4 separate regions of the Homo sapiens genome follow, and regions 2, 3 and 4 are each linked to region 1. The links are contacts of gene promoters, found by promoter capture Hi-C in human tissues and cell types (Jung and others, 2019). All regions are on one chromosome and are shown on one strand. The core of a region is centred on a gene start or on the middle of the fragment in contact, and the rest is flanking DNA. Distances in the headings are between cores, read along the strand shown.

Evidence for each region. The method cuts DNA at HindIII sites, captures the fragments that hold promoters and counts their contacts. A contact is called where the count stands out against the background at its distance.
Region 2: a fragment that was not itself captured here is called in contact with the fragment with the promoter of HOXD9 in region 1 in 2 of the 25 tissues and cell types used here (heart left ventricle and liver).
Region 3: a fragment that was not itself captured here is called in contact with the fragment with the promoter of HOXD9 in region 1 in 1 of the 25 tissues and cell types used here (IMR-90 fibroblasts).
Region 4: a fragment that was not itself captured here is called in contact with the fragment with the promoter of HOXD9 in region 1 in 1 of the 25 tissues and cell types used here (bladder).

The regions. Positions count from the first base shown.
Region 1 is chr2:176,120,698-176,125,693 of GRCh38, reverse strand. HOXD9 (homeobox D9) reads right to left here and starts at 2,975. Exons shown (of 2, transcript NM_014213.4): 1 at 2,109-2,975; 2 at 757-1,760. The coding sequence starts at 2,925. The coding sequence ends at 1,519. The HindIII fragment of the contact is 11,890 bases long and covers 1-4,996 here.
Region 2 is chr2:176,789,750-176,794,745 of GRCh38, reverse strand. No RefSeq gene overlaps it. Among named protein-coding and RNA genes, the nearest start is that of LINC01117, 150 kb to the right of the region's middle. The HindIII fragment of the contact is 7,005 bases long and covers 1-4,996 here.
Region 3 is chr2:176,713,432-176,718,427 of GRCh38, reverse strand. No RefSeq gene overlaps it. Among named protein-coding and RNA genes, the nearest start is that of LINC01117, 78 kb to the right of the region's middle. RefSeq lists a silencer at 3,363-3,442. The HindIII fragment of the contact is 4,268 bases long and covers 470-4,737 here.
Region 4 is chr2:176,684,313-176,689,308 of GRCh38, reverse strand. No RefSeq gene overlaps it. Among named protein-coding and RNA genes, the nearest start is that of LINC01117, 49 kb to the right of the region's middle. The HindIII fragment of the contact is 4,440 bases long and covers 1-4,302 here.

The sequences.
Region 1 (4,996 bases), core at 1,726-4,225:
CAAGATCTCTGCCACCGCCCCCACCTTCCACCCAGCTCAGGCCACTTGGCAGTGCTGCCTCTTTGGCCTGCAAATGCTGTGCTCACCCAAACCCTCACTTACAATGACCTTCATTTTAGCCCCTGAATGCAGCCCTCAGAGGGCCAAGCTGGGGGCTAAACATACACAGAAGCTGGGTGGGGGGAAGGGGGCGGTGAAATGGAGGTGGCTGGGGAGGAGAGCCTTGACCATTTTGATCGCTAAGGTCACTTTGGGGCTTTGGTGGGGAGGAGCAGAAGCTCACAGCCTGACCAGCTGGGACCTCCCGGAGCCAGCTAGCCCCACCGAGCTGGGACAGTTGCTCCAGAGTGTAGAGTTGGCCTTTCCCTTGTTTGGAGAGGGGTTTGGCATCTGGGGCTTCAGGAGCCCAGGGAAGGTTAGGGTGCTGTGTACCCAAGCCCCAGCCTGAAAGTGCCTGGCTTCTGGGGCCTGCTGGCTCTTCTGGGCGCTTCTGCAAGGCTAACACTGGGCCCAAGCACAGAGTTCGTGGAGGACCTTGAACCAGGCTTGGGGAGGCACCAATGTCCCCCCACAGGGTCTGTGCTGCTGCATCTGCCTACACAAAGGGATGTGAGGCAGAGAAGGCAGAGACACATCAGAGAGATCTGTCAGGTGGAAGGGCCCTGAATTTTTAACAATGTCTCACTCCCAGGGGTAGAGGAGAAATATCCTGAGTGTGATATTTTGCAGAGAGGCAGAGAAAGCAGGCACACAATGTTTAGGGCCAGCGTCTGGGCTCCATTTGATCAGGTCAGCATTTATTAGTAGGAAGCAGTAACATTTACAACTGGTCCTCGGGCAGGAACCGGGAGGGCCACCACCCGCGGCCGCCCACGCGAGCCCAGCCTTCAGGGGAGAGAGCAGCGCGTCCAATGCACTGAGGACAAACCCCAACCCGCCCGAGGCCCTGGGCTCCTCTAAGCCTCACTGGAGATCTCCACCGAGGTCCCGCGTGCTCCCTGAGGAAAGGGGGCTTTCGCAACTGGTGGGCAACCCCGCCGGGCTTCACCGTGGGCTAGCAGCCGGGGTGTCCGCACTGTTGTCGCTCTGCCTTCATTCTTGGAATTGGGGCGCACTTGGCCCCTGTTTGGGCAGTGCTGGGGGTGAGGGGACTAAACTACAGCACTTTTCAGAAACATGGGGGACATTTACACAAGAGAGGGCTCCCCAAGCCAGCTTGCACTCACAAAATATAGCATTTCTTAAGGAACCAATGGAGCAGGAAAGAGAGGGAGTGGGATAGGGCGAAACCCCAAAGCCACTTGGTTTTTCCAACACGTAAACGAGCAAATACAGAGTCCCCCAAATACCTCAGAGACCAACCACACAGTCACTTCTATCTAAAAAGAAAAAAAAAAAGAAGAAGAAGTCCAAGTCGCTGGAGAGTTTCTGGAAATCAAGCACCAAACACCCACAAAGGAAAACAGCAACAACAACAAATCCGCTGCCCTTGAGCGCTCCCGCCAGCACCGCGCCGGGTCAGTCTCCTTTGGGGCATTTCTCCTTGCTCATCTTTTTCATTTTCATCCTACGGTTCTGAAACCAGATTTTGACCTGTCTCTCTGTTAGGTTGAGAATCCTGGCCACCTCGTAGCGCCGGTCCCGGGTGAGGTACATGTTGAAGAGGAATTCTTTCTCCAGCTCAAGCGTCTGGTATTTGGTGTAGGGACAGCGCTTTTTCCGGGTGGAGCGAGCGTGGATCCAGTTCGCGGCGGGGTTGTCTACAAAGAGGGAGGTTTGGAGACGGGGAGAGAGGAGAGGAGGGGAGGCAGGGAGAGACCACAGGGTGGGGAAGAGAGGTCGTTAAATTAATTTCACCAAGGATGGTCGCTTTTCACAACTTGTGGGGAATTATCATAAAAAGCCTTAATGCTCGCGCTCTGTTTACCGTACTAACTGAGCGCCCAGGGTAGGTGGTTATGGGAAGCTCTTTTTATGGATGCATGTTGTTCGCCTAGGCTTGGGTAGGCGTCTAGACGTTTTTATAGGTTAGTAAAACTATCAGTTTTGCACATTCGAGCCTTACAGGTTTCAGCAATAAATCAGGGGGCAATTTCTTTTGCACTTACTTGGGTCAAGTTGCTGCTGCTGCGGCTGCGAATGCTGCTTCTCCTCCTCCTTCAGCGAACAGCCTGGGATCGGGTGGTCGCTGCAAGCTGAGGGCTCCGACGAGCCGCCCGTCCCAGTCGCGGCCCCGATCCCTGCCCCAGGCCCGGTTCCCCCCGTCGCCGCTGCCGCCTTCTCCTGCAGGAACGAGTTGCACGAGAACTCGGGGCCGCTGCTCCCCTGGGACTCCCGGGCCACGGAGCACTCAGTCCGTTTGGAGGAGGAGGATAAGGAAGTGGAGGAGGAGGAGGTGGTGGAGGCGGCCGTGGCGGGGGCCGGGGCCGCTCGGGTTTCAGGCTTAATCCCGTAGTGGCGCCCGTTGGCTGGGCCGCTGGGGCCAGGGCTGGGACCGCGGCCCGGACCGCCGCCTCCACCACCACCGCCACCGCCCGCACCGCCCGGGAAGCCGGGCAGCGGCTCCATCCAGGAGCGCACGTAGCGGCCGGGCTCGGAGGCAGAGGCGGCCAGGGGCGGCGGGGGAACGTACGGGTGGTAGAGGCCGCTCATCGCCGCCGCTGCCGGGGGCTGGGAGGGCACCGCGGACCACGAGGCAGAGAACACGGCCGATCTGGGGGCAAAACTACACGAGGCGAACTCGGCGGCGGTGGCGGCCGGGCCATCAGCCACACCTGCAGGCCGGCCCTGCGCGCCTGGCCCCGGCGGCCCGAAGCGCGCCGCGAACACCTCGTCGCCCTCATGGCCTATAAGCGAGTCCACGTAGTAGTTGCTGAGGGTGCCACTGGAAGACATTTTGAGGCGTCCCGCACTCCCACCCAACATTACACTGTCCGCCGCCGAGCAGCTCCCCGCCGGCGCCCGAGCCACCGACTAGTTCGCAGGCTGCAGCCTCCACCATTGGTCGCGCGGCCCACGTGATCATATTTACCAATACCGGGAGTAAATCAGTCCGCTAAACTGGGGGCTGCTGTGATTAAAAAAAAAATCATCAACATAAGCGCCGCAATTAGAGCCCGCAGGCCCAGGTCCATGTGCCCGGCTCGGCCCGGCCCGACCTGGCCTGGCCCGCCCAGCGGCTGCCAGGACCACAGACGCGACCGCATCCAGAGGAGGCGCTGGGGACTATTTGTTCGCTTCTTCTTGCAGCCCTCGGTCCCGCAGTCGGGCCCCGTCGCTGACTCTCCAGCTTCCGAGCCGCGGGCGGCGAGTCCAGGGCACACGGAGCGGCCGCGGGGGCGCCAGGCCGGTGTCGCCCGAGGCAGGCGGGCCCTCGGGGCGGCCCCTAGCGCCCGAGGGGAGCTGTTCTCCCCTCGCCTCTCTCCCTACTCACACCCACCCCTCCCCACACATCCCCACACACACGCTTGCTCACAGCTTGTCGTGTTGTTTAAAACAGGTGGAAGACCTCTGTAATGATATTATGCCTTTCAATAAAAATTTTATGAGGTGTATTTGATTATAGATTAATGTGTCCCTAATAAAACGGACGGATGGAGCAGATCGGAGGGCCCCCTCCCCCTGCCACACTCACACACGCCCGCGCGGCCACACACACCCCGACGTGAGGCTGGGCACACGCCGCGGCCCGAGGGGCGAGCCGGGGCGCGGCGGTGGAGGACACAGAGGGGCTTCTGCCTGCCCTCGGAAGGGCGGGCGGCCGGGCGAGTTGGCGCAGCACGGACAGTGGCGGCCAGGGTGCTTCGTCTTCTCCGATGATGCTGGAAAGGCCCTGGAAGAGAACACGCCACAGGGCAGAACCCAAATGCTAGAGCAGCTTGCTCCCGCCCGCCGCCTCAGCCCTGCCTCAGCGAGTCTCCCCGGGCAGGGCCGCTTCGCGCGGTTCGCACTTAAAGGCCTCGGAGGAGACTCCCAAAATGTCTAAAAAATTCGGCCGAATGGCTAGGTCCTTGGGACACTCCCTTCTGATTTTTTTCCCCCTACAGAGGTGAGGTTGAGCAGCCTTGAATCTGAGGGAAATGCCCATTGTCACTCCCAAATCCATGGTACAAAGCCTCGGAAGCCCGGCTGGGAGCCCAGACAAAAGCGGCCGGGGCGCCGGCAGCGGAGGGCATATTCCTTGCTCTACAAGTTGCCCAGCTCACCCTTGGAGGGCTCCCGGCCCACCTCCAGCCCCGAAAAGGAAGCGGGTAAATGGCTATTTATGGCCTGATTGATTACCTTTGCCAATAGCTTTCTGATTTTGTTCCAGATGGGATGCCTTTGCCTTGTAGCTCAGGCTTTCCTCGGATACATGGCCCGCTATCAACAGCTAATGGTATTCCCCACATGATCGGAGAAACGGCTAAATAAAAATTACCCTCCTCCTGCCCAACCGGTGTTAAGTCTGGGGCAAAGCTATTACAACGTTTTCAATCTAGCATTGATTCCAAGCCCTCTCCCCCACCCCCAGGAAATGGCCCCCTAAAAGAGTTCTGTCTTGGAATGTTCCTGGTTTTGGGGCGGAAGTTTAAAATTTTGAATGCCAGTGTCCCAGAGACTCCCTGGCTGAGGACTTATAGCACCTAAATGGATCGTTCTTAGGGAAACATTTAAAAGGAAGAAATGGAAAGGATGTGTTTTGTAAAACTGCTGGAAGCTATTTGAAACTGCAGGCAGGACCTCAGGTAACGAATTTTCTGTTAGCTTTCTCCTGCAAGGCCTCTTCTCCCTTTTCCCCGACAGGACTAGATAAGTCTGGGCTCTCTAGTGGAGATCCTGTTGAAGCCGGTGGAAGCTGGTGGGAGTCCCCTGGACCATGGCAGCGAATGGAACATTAGACTTCATGGGAAGTCATGTTCATTTGCAAAATTTTCAGTCACCCTTTCTGCATTTTCTTGCATCCCAGATGCAGCAGTTCCCACCAGCATTTTGTAATTAAATAGAGGAAAGACTG
Region 2 (4,996 bases), core at 1,513-4,012, 670 kb before region 1:
AATATCACAGAGTGATTTATTCAGCAAATAAAACATTAAACACAGTGATGTGATAGGGGCTGGGGCAGGGAACTTCCTTAGCTACAATGATCAGAAAAGTCCCTGACTAAAGTTCAAGCCACATGAAGACCCAGGGGGATTGATGTCCAGGCAGAAGGAACAAGTGCGAAGGCCTAGAGGCAGGAATGCACTTGGGGTGTAAGAGGAAGAGAAAAAGCACAGTAGTTGGAGAAGAGCAAACTATACTGAAATATAACTGACCTCCAAGTATTTTAGGATTTGCTCATTTGTTTGTTTATTCATTTATACTCTACCTTGTTCCAAAAAGGATTTATAATAGCCCTTTGAATGTTGTTGTTCCTTACAGTGCCTATAGATACGAGAAAAATAAAAGCGAGTTCTCTAGCAGGTAAAGTCTAAACAGTATCTAGGATGGAGCATTAGGACAATCAATGCAAGATGCTTACTTTTTCTTTTGAAGACTCACACACCTTGAAATGTTATTTAAGAAATTATTTCTAAAGAAAATGGTTGCACTGAATTTAATTTCAAATCAGCAGATTCATATTCTCTAATTAATCACGGCACATGCTATTTACAAAACTCCTGCTAAAAACAAATTTCTTTTGTACACATTACAAAGAAATGTTACATAAAATTAAGCACCAAGTAATGACTTTAATTTGCGGTTAGTTAATAATACACAGATGATCGCGCGGCTGTAAAGGAAGCCGCTTGGGACATTAACAGATATGCTGGCACAGAGGAATTGGAAACAGGCAGACTGTGAGGCATTGGGCTCAGCTCTGGGTAGGGAATAAAGAGGGCTCAAGAATCAGTGGACATTTGATGCTTTGACTTTCAGTAAGAGGCAGAAGCCTGATGAAGCCTTTGCTCAGAGAAGTCTGACCTTTAGGATTTTCAAATGGTTTCTAAGTTATTTTTTACCTCTTGCCCAGCAAAAAGGTTTTACAAAACTTAATGACATTTTTATTTAGCTGAGATTTCCTGAATGACCTTGGCTCAGAAGTACTTTTTGGCGTTGCAAGAAGCTATAATTGTCCCAAGTTCTGTGAGCCACTTTAACTCAGCTAATTTCTTGGTACTTAGTGATCCCAAGCTAAGGGACTCAGATTTTATATTTTGGGAAATGAAAATAAAATAAAGCCCTAATATTTGAAGGAAACCAATACGGCATCTCTCTGAAAGTCTGCAGGCTACATAAGTGATCATATAAACAGACACAAAAAAGAAAATGTTTGATCCCACATTGCAGCGAATGGGTGGGAAAACCAGTGGCCTCATGGCTTTGTGATTAAAGTTGGTTTAAGCCTCAAGAAAGGAAGAAGAGTGGTTAGGAGACTGAAAATGGTTTGCCTTTCTCTTATGGAGCAACTTTTCTGATATTTTCTCAGTTCTATTTACTCTCATCCAAAAGCCAGAGTGAGGCAGGGAAAAGGGTGAGCACAATGAGAGACTCCTTGTGCCCAGCCCTGGGAGAGGACCTCAGTGCCCCAAGACGTAGAGACTCCTGGAGGGCATCCAGGGCTCCCCTAGCTCACAGTGTCTCTTATTTTTCATTTCATGTGTTCACACACCTCCTTTGTTTTGTAGATGAAATGGTTATCAAAAAAACTGTAGACTCCATGGTGACATTTTAGCTTCTTAAACAGGTGACAAACATCCCTGGCATATCTAGGTTGGAGATTACATCAGTGCCACCATTACTCCTCTCAGGCATCTATGGCTGGTCTCTATTTCCCATGGAAGCTGAGTTAAGTCATTACTCCCATGGAACTGGATGGGAATGAGGAAGTCTGTAAACTTAATCCACAATAAAGCCTCACTGTCATCATTATTAGGCTTTGGGGCAATACAATAATACACTCACAGAGGCACACACACCATTACCAGACTAATGATGAACTGAAGATCAAAAAAAAAACTTAGGGAAGCTTCCGAATGGGATTAATCAACAACTCTAAGGCAATATCATGCTGTGCTCATGTTTTCTGCAAATATTGACATTGAAGAATTAAACATGTGGCTAAAAAGGATATCTTTTTCCCTGTGAAAGAAAATTTCTATGTTACTATTTCAGATCAAAGAGAATGCAGAACAATAGAAGCAAGAAGGATCCCAAATATAGTGTTGCAACTCTCCTCACCTGCAGGAAGGGGTGAGTGCTGTATATGTCTTTACTGTTTTTGTTTGTTTAATCTCTGTTTCATCACCAGTAATAAGAGTAATAATTACATTACACACACATATATTCTCTTTATAGATACAAACACATAAATACACCCATACATGTATATATTAACACACACACATAATTTAAGCTGGAAGAAGAGTGATAGAAAAGGACCTCTGTTTTTTTCCTTCTTTTGAATTTGGAAAGCTATTACAGACTTCTCCAGAAACATTTTGGGACAACAGGGAAGTCTGAACACAGGAGATATGGAAATGGGGCAATAGTGAAAGAGGAAGTTCAGATGGAATATAAGGCAGAGAAAGCAGGAATGATTTCTTGAAAGACAAGGCAGAATTGGTTCTGGAAACCAGAGGTCCCTCACTGAGTAAGTCGTGACTGTTTCAAACAAAATCAGCTGGGAGCTGACCAAGAAGGCAAGTGGTAATGCTTTGATGTGAAACATTTGTACACATGGTCCCACAATATGAAACATGGATGTATGCTTCCACATAAACTTGTTAGAGCAGCCTGTTTCAGGCAAAAATAGCTCCGTTGGTATTTTCTTGACTACATTTGATACTTGTTTACTGACCATTTAAGTTAGAGCTTGAGCATTGTGATAGTCTAATCTATCATTTAGCAAATATTCACTCCCTGTCCACCATCCCCAATTCCCGCCCCTCTATACCTCCATGGAGGCAGTACCTCTCTGCTTCATTGACGTGGGGTTTGGCCCTGTGACTTGCTTGGCTCGATAGAATACTAGTAGACTTGATATAAGCAGAGCCTGCAAATGTACTTGTGCAGTTGGGCTGGCCCTTCTTTTGCTTCTGCCATGAGAAGAAATGTCCTGGTTAGCCTGTTGGTCCAAAGAGGGTGAAGAAGACATAAGGAGCACATCTGGACCAAATCTGTAGCTTGAAATCAAGCCCAGCTGAACTGAACCTGGATCAGCCAAACCCAAATATATGAGGGAGAATAGATGATTATTCTGTTAAGCCATGGAGTTTGAGTGTGGTTTGATGTACAACATTAGCTGTGGCTAACTGATACCAGCAGAACTGCTGAATGCACAAGTGAAGGAGGCAAGGAATGCTCATTGCATCATGCTTATAACGCACAGTGAGTAAGCGAATGGCGGAGTCTCCAGCAAGGGTGTGCAGAACATGGAAAGTGGGGGCTACCATGTAGAGCACAGTAGCGTGAGGCTCTGCTGAGCACAGGTGGAGGGTCAGAATTAGGCTGCTTGTGGAACAGCATAGAGTAGAGTAGTGACTATTCTGCGTACAACTTTGTATAATCTGATATCCACAAGAGCTCTTGTTTTTGGAGCAAGGAGAGTGTGTTGGTGGTGGTGGTAGTGACTTCTTTCTGTTTGTTGTTTTGCATAGTTTTGAGATGGGGGCATAGCCATGGAGAGTTGAAGCCATGATCTAACCTCCATCTGCAACTGATCCCCTGGACTGGGTTATCACCTGGTGGGTAGAAGGGTAAGGGCCAGAGTCTGAAGGAGCTATTTTCAAGAGACATTGTCACCTGGACCCCAACATGGCCACTCTTGTGCATATCAAAGTATGGCACAGAACTAGGGTTGAGGACCATTCTCCCCTACTTCTTTGAGGCACCCAGACAGCTCTGGCTTCTTGAAGACTAGCGGGTTAGGGAGATGTCACCAGTGTTACACTTCGTTCTTACCATAGGCACCACCAGCTGGTGCTATAGTGAGGTTCCCTCCAGCCTGGCATGGGTGGAGGATCCAGGAGAGGAAGGTGTGGGGCTGCTTAAGGACCTGACTGGCAGGCATGTGAGGAGGCGAGACACTCCTTGGGGACTCCCAGGAATTCACTGGGAGGCCTTGGCAGGGATGCTTCAGCAGGGTGGGACAAAAGAAAGAAATTTGGGATAATAATGCTAATGGGAGCTCATTTGAATGCACATGCTGATGAGGACACAGAGATATCCCAGTTGGTTTATTGTTGAAAGTTAACTGTAGCTGGCTCAATTCCCACTGTCGATAACCACAGAACTTTCTTGGTGATTCTGGAGGGTGGGGGTGGGGGTCTCTCTTCAACTGCACATTTAGCCCAACAACCCAGCCCTACTGGAAGGAGAATATCACCAAGATATTGCCTCAGTGAAACTTCCACTGCATCACTTCAGGATGAAAACTCACAGGCTCATAATAATGTTGACAATTTATGTTGATGAGAGTTACCAAAGACATGTAATTGCTCAAGAGAAGTAGATGTATATTAAGAGAGAAAGGAAGAAGAAAGAAAGAAAAGAAGGGGGTAGAGAGAGAGAGAGAAATAGAGAAAAGAATAATCCCAATTAAAGATGTAAAAACTTAGAGATATACAAAGGTTCTTTTCTAACCACTGGTAACACCAATGCCTCTTTTTTCCCCCAGATAATAGGATATTTAACAGAAAACATAATACATTTATCATCAATGATGTAGAAATGATACCATTTCAGGAAGATAGAGATGGAAAATGGTCCCTTAATATTCCATGGCCTTGGTATAAAAAGTGAGTCACATCCACTCACAACTCAGGAAATTTCTTGATCTAAGTGCATGCTGCACTGCCCCCACTCCCAAGATGAGATAATAAATTCCGTCTGTTATTCTTTTTAGTTTTTAAAAAAAACATTTTGGTATCATCTGTAGAGTTTAAAATACCAGTGGTTTTATGAATTCCAAAGCAGCTGTTTGTCTGAAAAAAGTCTCACTGTCCCTGGGAAGTTTTCTCCAAGAAAGAGAAGTAAAAGATATTACAATTTTAATGTAATAATTGGTCT
Region 3 (4,996 bases), core at 1,354-3,853, 590 kb before region 1:
AATTCTGTAAGCTAAGCAACCAGTTTCTTTCTCTTTTCTAGGCCGTTATGCTTAAGGTAAAGGAATGAATTGCTCATGACAATTTCAAATAGCAGCTACTGGCCTCTGGAAAATTGAGATAATTTATGACACTGAGACCTAAAGCCCTCCAAATAAATGCTGCATTGCAACAGGACTTTCTTTTCTGGTCCCTAAATTGTCACTTAAAGAAGCAGAAACCTGAGATCTTACAGATAGTAAAAGCTGCCTGATTCAGCTTTGAAATGTACAAACTTGAATGGCTGTTAGCTGTATATTTTTAAAGGATTGGTGAGCTATCTGTGCCTGAGCATGAGTTCCTAAATGCCTGATGTACTACAGTGGTTCTCAAAGTGGGACACCCTGGTCAGCACTCCTGGGAACTTGTTAGAAATACAAATGCTTGACCCTGTCCCAGACTTAATGGATCAGAAACATTAGGGATGGAGCCCAGGAGTCTGTATATTAACAAGCCCACCAGGTGACTGGGATACACTGTGCTAAAGTTTGGGAACCACTTGGGTAGGGTATGCTATGGTAGGTAGCCCAGATTCCCCATCCAGGACTGTAGTATTCTTTCCCCCAGGCTCTAGGAGTGTTGGTAGCTGCCAGCTGTCAGCTGAGTTCCTCTCCCAGCATTGCCTTCAGCTGAAGAGAGCTACCTCATCCAAGGCCATGTCTCCTCTCTGTAGTAGTAGATGGAGATTAGTCTATGGAGATAAGGACAGGGATCCAAAGGTTTGAGACTCTTTCCTTAATGTAGGACAACTCTGAAGGGCCATCCCAGTCCAGAGCCCCCCGTGGGATCCGCTGAGGCCTTTGTTTGTAACTGCATCACAGTTCAACTCCTCCCTCTGCCCAGTCCTGCTGCCCTTGCTCCTTCACAGGTATTGCTCCAAGGGCACACCTCAACCCACTTCCTAAGGAAAATCAGCGTCTCTCAGTCTGCTTCCAGGAGAACCAACCTGGCCCTTCTTGGTAAGATTTAGGACCATGCACTGTGCTCCAGAAGAGAGAGGGCCCTATACTCACTGCTCTGGAATGGCCCAAGGCAACAGGACACTACCATCTCCCCGCTGTTTCTGTTCCCCTCTTTGAGGCCTGCTGATAAAAGTTCTGCACTTCTTCCAACTTCAGTTACCAGAAGACCCTATTGGGAATACTTTGCCCATACCCCTTCACTGCCAAATTCTGGGCTAATCCCTGCTCTAGACTGGTGAGAAATGGTAAACTATGACTATTAACTCCCCTCTTAGGACCTCCCCTTTCTTCCCCTCTAGGTTTTCAGAAAATATGAAGCATCAAAAGGCTTTATTGTATTTTTCCGACTCACCATGTTATATCCCTATGTAAAAGCAAACTCATTTAAAGGAAGATGATTTTTTTCTCTCCCTCTTTTTCTTGTATTTTAAAATATTGTATGTTATATTCAAAGACTGGACATAATGTTTACAGCATGTTGCTAAAATTAGAGAACAGGTTGCAAAAACCTGTTTGTATACCGCAGCTCTATAGTTTAAAGAAGCACATGTTATACAATGCATTACATACTAAGTACATAGTATGCAAAGTAAGGGCATTTAAGATGTTAATAAAACTTCTGTGGCTACTTTTGTATATTTTCTGTTTCCTCGTGATTGTTAGAAATCAATAAGAGCTTTTTTCCTGAGGACATGTGCTCAGGGTGGACATGTGTCTCTTTTTGCTGCCCAGGGCAGCCCTGACTTACTCTTGCTGTCCTGACATAATTATTAATACTGTTCCCTTTCACACTCAAAAGTGTCCACAATGGATAACTTTTATGCTCATTCTACTTATGCAACCTAATCTACTAGCTAACAGTGTGCTCTGCTCACCTGTTTGTAGGAAAATCACATGGCAAGAATCTCAAAAAGAGATAGTACCTTGCAAATCCTTTTACCTGCCTGCTCTCACATACTCCCCTTCCCATACACGCATTGAAGCTAACTATTTTTTACTCAGAGGTAGTGCACAGTTATTGCACATCAGGGTTCCGAGAGGCGCTGTCCGGCAGATGGACACTGGTGCCAGTAAAGTCGGAGCTTCTATTTAGGGTCCAGGCACTTTGTGCCAATGACAGAATCCAGGAGCCATTCGAAGAGTCCTGTTCTCCCGCATTTGATTTAGCCAAAGTTAAATTATTTCTGCTCGAGGGCAGACACAACACCTCAAAGCGACTTAGATTGGCATGGGGTGGGGGCTACATTTTGACTGTGGTTCCTCTGCTCTCAAGAAACAAGTGGCTTATGCGAACCAAAAATATCCCAACCTCACTGAAATAGTGAGGGGAAACTTAACATATTCTTTATATTTGCTTCAATTAATCACCAAGTAAGCAGATAAAATAAATAGCTTATAAACACTAATTTCATCTAATCCTCACAATAGCCCTACTGGATCCTTTTGAATGTAATTACTCAGCATTTTCATCTTTATAGTTAATATTAATAATATCTCCCACTTCTTAGTCTTCACCATGTACCAGGCACTGTGTAAGAGACTTACAGTCATAAGCTCATTTCACCTCACCATACTAGTTGAATACAGGTTTATTTGTTGTTTATTATCTACCATGGCCACTATAAGCTTCATAAGGACATAAACTTTGTCTTGTTCACAATTGTATTCCTGTATTTGTAATTTTGTCTGGCACAGAGAAAGTTCTCAGTAAATACTTGTTGAATGCATAAATAAATTATTGAATGAGTAAGCCAATAAGCTCACAAGAAAGGTGTTCTTATCTGCATTTTGCAGTTGAGAAAACCAAGTCTTACAAAGAGTAAGGAATTCGTAAAGATTTTGTAGATCGCAAACTGGGGGCTGTCAGGTTCCAAAGTCTTGAACATGACAACACTCCCCCCCACTTTCCTGATGAGAAAACCATGGCTCTGGGAGTTAAATAGCCTGCTCAGTACCCACTAAGTATTAAGTTATTAGAACTCAGATCCAGGAACTCTGATTCTAACCAGCCCTATTTTCTCCTCATCATGTTGATGGATGGCAGGGTCAGTCACCATGTGGTTGGCATGTACAACCATGAACATTATCATTTGACAGAGGACAAGGGTAGGCAGTTCCCCCAAGCAAAACACAAATCCTCCAGTAGGAGGGTGTCATCATTCTCTGACTTAATCCTGGGCATTAGTGTTTAGTCAGCCGTGTTAGGTCATTCTTGCATTGCTATAAAAAAAATACCCGAGGCTGGGTAATTTAAAAAGAAAAAATGTTTAATTGGCTCATAGTTCTGTAAGAGCATGACACCCACATCTGCTCAGCTTCTGGGGAGGCCTCAGGGAGCTTTTACTCACAGCAAAAGGTGAAGCGAAAGCGGGCATGTCACATGGTGAAAGCAGGAGCAAGAGAGAGTGCAGCGGGGAGGTACCATACTGAAACAACCAGATCTCATGGGGATTCACCCACTGTCATGAGGACAGCCCCAAGAGGATGGCACTAAACCACTGATGAGAAATCCACCCCCATGATCCAATCACCCCCTACCATACCCCACCTCCAACACTGAGGATTACATTTTAACATGAGATTTTGGGGGAAAAATATCCAACTATATCACCCACTAAGAATGAATAGGGACCATAATGTATTATCTGGGCTGGGATAAAGCTTACTGCTCTGACAAACCATACAATTTCAGTGGTTTATCACAAAATATTTTACTTTTTAATCATGTAACAGTACAAGGTAGGTGTCATGGTGAGCAGCCAGCTTTCCTCCATGTGGAAACTGAGAGATTTAGACTCCTTCCACACTGTGGCCCCCTGGCATCCTTACGTCCTCTGTTAACAGTACAGAAGAGGAAAGACAGGGTGTGAAGAAGTCTTCTTAACCACCTTGGCCAAAGCTGGATACACCTTATTGCCCATAGACTAGTGGTAAGAACTAGTCCATGGCTCTACCAAGATGCACGTGGAACTGGGAAATACGATCTCTCCTAGGCATCCACTTTCCAGAGCCACATGGAAGGAGGAGCACAAATTTTTGATGCGCAGCCAGCATCACAGCCATTATGAGAATAGATTGGGCCAGGAAAAGATGGGAGATAGGAATCTGGGCTGCCACCTAGAGAAGGATGCATTTGAAAACAAAGCAGTGGGGAGAGGGTAGCAAAGGCCAACTTTGGCAACCTTTGGGGGTTTTGTAGACTTTTCTTCTTCAGAGGTAATGAAGGTGGAGCAAATATGTCTTTGCTGCCAATGTGGTGCACACTTGGAGCAAAGCATGCAACCTCTCATCCTAATTAACATCAAGCCACCACACTCAACAGTACTACCCAACAGGTTTCTAATTTCCATTCATGCCCACCTCTCGTTTCTCTACCTGAGTTGTAAATTATGAATCTTGCAAAATTGGACAATATCATAAAAGCTACAAGATGTATCGAGTGCCATAGCCTTCAGTTATCTTAGCTCATTAAACAGAAAAATAGGTACACTTTTTTCTCTTTATGGGAAAACAGTATCAGGTAATGTCACATAATGTTTCCAAATAGAATTTGTCTTTGTCAGCCAAGTAGTGAATAACAGGGAAACACTGAATGCTCTTTTTAAGAAATGATTTGAAATTAATTTCAATCCATTCTGATGGTTCCGTAAAAAGAGAAATATAGACTTCAGGATGTCTCTTAATGTAGATTGCTATAGTAATTTAAAAACAACAAATAATAATGAAGTAATGATTCTATCATGCTGCCATTGTGCTTGACAGTGAATAGTATATTTTTAAAAAATAAATTTGCCACTGCAATATATGCCGATGGTTAGACTCTAGGTATTGCTTTCAGATTAGAAAGAGTCATAGGATCATATTCATGTATTTTAGTAAGTATTTACTGTGACAGAGATAAGAATATTACAAATATAATTATTCACAGCCTTTCTCCCTCTCCTGCCTTCTAAAGAGGATCATTTTGTATGAGGAGTAATGGATAGGGTGGGATAAT
Region 4 (4,996 bases), core at 833-3,332, 560 kb before region 1:
GTATATACCATGTTAACCACTGCCCAGATTAGGATATAAAACATTTTCATCACCCAAGTGAGTTCCCTTGTGCACCTTTCTAGTCAATAACCCTCAGCCCCACTGAAATAGCTAGTATTCTGATTTCTATTTTGATGGATTAGTTTTGCCTGTCCTTGAAATTCATATAAATGGATTCATACACAGTGGATTCTTTTGTGTCTGGCTCCTTTCACTTAATGCAACATTTCTTAGATTCAACTGTGTTGTACGGGAATCAGTAGTTCATTGCTTGCTCTTGCTGAATGCAGAGATATATGAGAGTTTGTTTATCCATTCACCTGTTGATGGACATTTCGGTTGTCTCCAGGCCTGGGCTGTTATGAATAAAGCTGTGTTGAATATTCCTGTACAGGTCTTTTTGTTGACATATGTACTTGCTTCTTTTGAGTGTATTCACAAAAGCTGAATTGCTTGGTCATAGGGTAGGTGTGTGTTTAACTGTCTATGCATTTTTTTTATTAACACTGTCTGAGAGTTGCCATATTAAACAGCAATTATCTTTTCTAAGTATATCGGGTTGAGCTCTGCAGTAGGAAAAAAGTGGAGTCTCTGGGCATTCTCATAGTAATCTCCCAAACTCAGCATTCAGGCTGTTATTAAATAGAAGAACTAGCAATTTTTCAGCAGTTACCTGTGCACACACAGAGGGTGGGTGCCTTTTTCACATCCTCCGCAGGTGCTGGGGAAATCCTGCCCCTCTACCATCAGGGAGATTCTCTGGAGACCAGGTGACATTCCAAACCTCAGACTTCCTAGCAGGAAATGCATCAAAACCCAAATCCTAACACGACAAAATCTTTGGCAAGGCCAACATAACATCCCATTCAGTCACTCAAGCTTCCACAAATTTTGATAACTTATCAGGACTACGACTGCCCTGGGTGCAGCACTGAGCAGTAGACTTCGGCCTGGAGAAGTCTCAGTCATTTTAAAACCCATCTCCCTCTGCTCAGATGATCATCTTCCCTCTGATTTACAGGGGCTGACCTGCAGGTGTTGAAAAGGGGCTCTTCATTTAACCAGACAGCAATAATCTCAGGAAGTATATTTCCACAGCTACATCGTCCTTCTCCCATTCTCACCACCAAAGCCAGCCAGCAACTCACTCCCTCCAGAGGTGACTCTGTAATGTGCCTTGGGCTATATCTGGGTCAGTGATAGGAAACCCTTATAATTCTACCCCCAAAAAGGCAAGAGAAAAATGATCACAGGGATCAAGGAGAGTGTCTCCTTATACTAATCTTTTTGCCTGATAAGAGGTGACCCATATCCAGAACTGGAGATTTATATATGCATTTTGACATAAATCTGCATCTGTAATTATGAGTCATAATGATCTTTATAGGCTGCACTAAATTGGTGAAGAAGAGTTACTGTTATTGACAAAGCATTGACCTGAACATTAGTGGTGGAAGAGCTAATTATATTTTTTCCTGAGGAGTGGGACTTCTTTTCTAGTTATGAATCACTTAGAATCGAGGCCTTTATTAAATACCTTTTCACATCTGAATATAAACAGAACTGAGCCTCCCAAGCACATCCTTTATCTTCACATAATTACAGATGTATAAAAATTTCAAAACACATTCTAGAGGCTTTTTTTTAGTGTTTCAAAGACAGTGATGAGGGTTTTGCAAGGTGACTGAAGAGGCTGATATATATTTTGTGAAAGCAAGCTGTCTGCAGGATACACTCCCATGTCTGAAAGACTGAGACCTATTTTTAGCTGGGCATGCTGGGATTCACGTGTGGAGCCACCATTAGCGTTAATAGAGCTCTGTGCGGCTGACTACTGTGTGCAGGCAGCCCAGAAAATGTACTCTTTAGAGCAATGGAATCTTCAAGCGAGCTTTAAATCATAGCCTTATCATACTTGCATGTTATTGGCAAGCCTGCCTAAAAATAGAATCTCATTACTTTAATTCTACAGTATTCTTAGGTGAGCCGACCTTTATTATTAATAACAGCATTTCACACACACACATATATATATATATATATATATATAGCACTGTCTGCTTAAGAGAACTTCACAAATTATACACATAAAACTTTCCTAGCTTAATGTAACAAGCTATGGGTAAAGGGGGCAGGAGGTAGGTGGTAAGTAGTGGCTCCCACTCTCCATCCAGGGTGGAGGACTGAGAAAATGTCACTAGGTGGCTCTAAACAAAGCCACTCTTTGAAGTTGAGCCATTTGCCCAACAAGCATTTTAATTCTGTGAAAGTATGTTGTATTTTTCATTGATAATTTGTAAGGCCCTGGGGACAGTCACAGCAACCCTGAGAATAATAGGCTGCTTCTATGATATATTTTTTGTTTATCTATTCAGGTCTTAGCTGAGTCTTGGAAACAAGAGCCACAATAAAAATGCATGCCTTTTCCACTCTCCAAACCACGAGCTTGCTCTGAGGAGCCTTTCTCTAAGCTTATGAACCCAAACTCAGCTATCGAGAATAGAAGGAGGATGGAACATTATCAGCCATCTATGCACTTACACCAATTACTTACCAAGGTTGTGTGAATGGTTAGTAGAGTTAGTAGCTGTGGTTTCCGGATAAATGTAGAGTGGATATGTAAATAATGCCTTCTGAGCATAGAGTAGTGTTACAGGCATGATTCTAGTTCTACACTGTAACTGCATAATCATGTGAGAAACAGAGAGTGAACTGTATGGTGGTTCAGACAGGTATTCATGCAGCCTGCAATTCAGTGGAACAAACACGGGATACCTATCTCCATTCCCTTAGTGCATTTAAGTATAAGTGCATGTCATCTATAGAAGCCGTCAAGTTCAGGATTTCCACAGTAACAAACATCTATGAAATGACTTCTGAGTCAAGCACTGTTCTAAAAACTGGATATGAAAATACTGAATAAGACATAGCCTCTACCCTCCAGCCAGCTTGCAGCTTAGAGAGGAAACAGATATGTAAAAGGAAATTTCAATCAGTGGGAGAAGCATTTTGATAAGAACAGAATATGCAGGCATTTCTAGGAGCACAGAAGAGAGGTGTGCAGCCAGGTCTTGAGTGGTCAGGGAATGCTTCCTGGAAGAGACGGCACGTCAGGTAGCCAAGCCAGGGAGGAGCAAGGAGAAAGTCCCTAAAGGCAGAGGAATCAGCAAGTACAGAGTCCTTGAGGCAAGAGTTACACAATCCTAGCACTGAAAATGAATCAGGGAGACTGGAGTTTATCTAGCTAAGGGCAAGTAGAGGCCACTGGAGGATGAGGCAGGATGCTGAAAGGCTGTGTGTGCCACATAGAGGAGCTTGGTCTTTATCCCGAGAGCAGTGGAGACTTCACAGCATAGTATTTGAAGGGGGCAGGACTAAGGTTTTATTCTGAAATACAGCAGGTAAGATAGTTCAGCTCATTCTGCCTCATAGTTGTACTTCTCAATGTGGCCTATACTGTCTCTTTTTCCCTGAATTTCCCTTTTCTTCCCTTTATATGAACTGTCCTAGGATAATGACATCTCAGTACTGAGTCAAAGTAAGCACACTGGGTCTTCCTGTGAACTCAGAAGTAAAATCAATGGAAAGACCCTCAGGACACTGGTTGATACCAGGACACATTCAATACTCCCAGCTGCGTTTGTGACACCAGAGTCTCAGAGGTAAATCCTACAAAATGTCACCGAGTTTTGTGCTCTTTTGATGGCTTAAGGCATGAAAAGAGGGACAAAAGGGAACTGCACAAAAAGGGCATTTCTTGTACATTGACCATGATAGATATGCTTGTTCAGGAAAGAAAAGGTGAACTGGAAAGCCCGTGTGTCTGATATGGACAGGAATGTATATGTGTTTGTGTTTCTGAGATGGAGAAATGCTTCTCGAAAGGCCATTCTATTGGCATGAACTCCTATCGTGGCCCCTGACAGCCTGCAGAGCACGGGCTGTTTGCATCCCACAAAGCTTCAAGGGGACTGCTGGCCCAGAGGGTCACAGACCAAAGGTGGCACGACACCTCTGAAAGCTTCTGGAAAGAGCCCAGTTCAACTGCCTTTCTTCTTCCTCCCTTTCTTCTTCGTTTCTCCCCATAGGAGATCCCTCGCCTCCCACATGGCTTTGGGAGAAGATGCTGTGATTGTTAATCTGGATGAAAAACGGGAAAACTGGGCTGATTATTTTGGACTATTCCTTCCCCTTGGAAAATCTGCTTTCAGACGTTCACTTCCAAATGCTAGTAAAGCCTTGTCAGCTGTAAAATGAGGGTTTGGGGAAAATTCAATAAAATCACCCATGTAAAGAGCTAAACACTGACCTGGTTATTATAGGAAGACCTCAATAAATGTTGGCTACTGGTCTCGTGACTCCTGTGAGCCAGCCTGGTTTTGATTTATTCTTCACTCCAACCTATAGGCTCTGAGTCCAACATGGCAATTCTTCCTTGTCTACCAACCTCCAAAGATGCTTGGGAGTTTGGGCACATATCTCATTTCGTATCCTCTAACAAGTACTTACATCATTCAATCTAGTGCTATCTTTTAGCAAGTATTTTTGAATTGGAGAGTTTCTGTAGGAGAAAAGGACTCAAGCTTAGGCAGAAGTTTGGTGAAACTATATTCACACAAAGCATTGTAAATGGAAAAGCAATTTGGCAATATATATCAAGACCCTTAAAAAATGCTCACATTTTTCAACTCAGTCATCTACCTCATTTCTGAAGATCATTTCCAAGGAAATCATCCAGAATATAGGAAAAAATACGAACATAAATATATCGACCGTGATACTATTTAAAGTATTTAAAAATTGACAACAACCTAAATATCTACGGATAGAGTTGTAGTTAAATTAATATTGATATATCAAAATAATGAAATAGTAGCAATTCAATTCTGCAGTTCCATTGGGAACCTTCAGAAGGATTCTACAGCAGTTTAACCTGGGAGGTAGGTTTGAAAGAACCTTAATGGCTTTCCTGATACAGCCTTCTTTTGAAAGACGA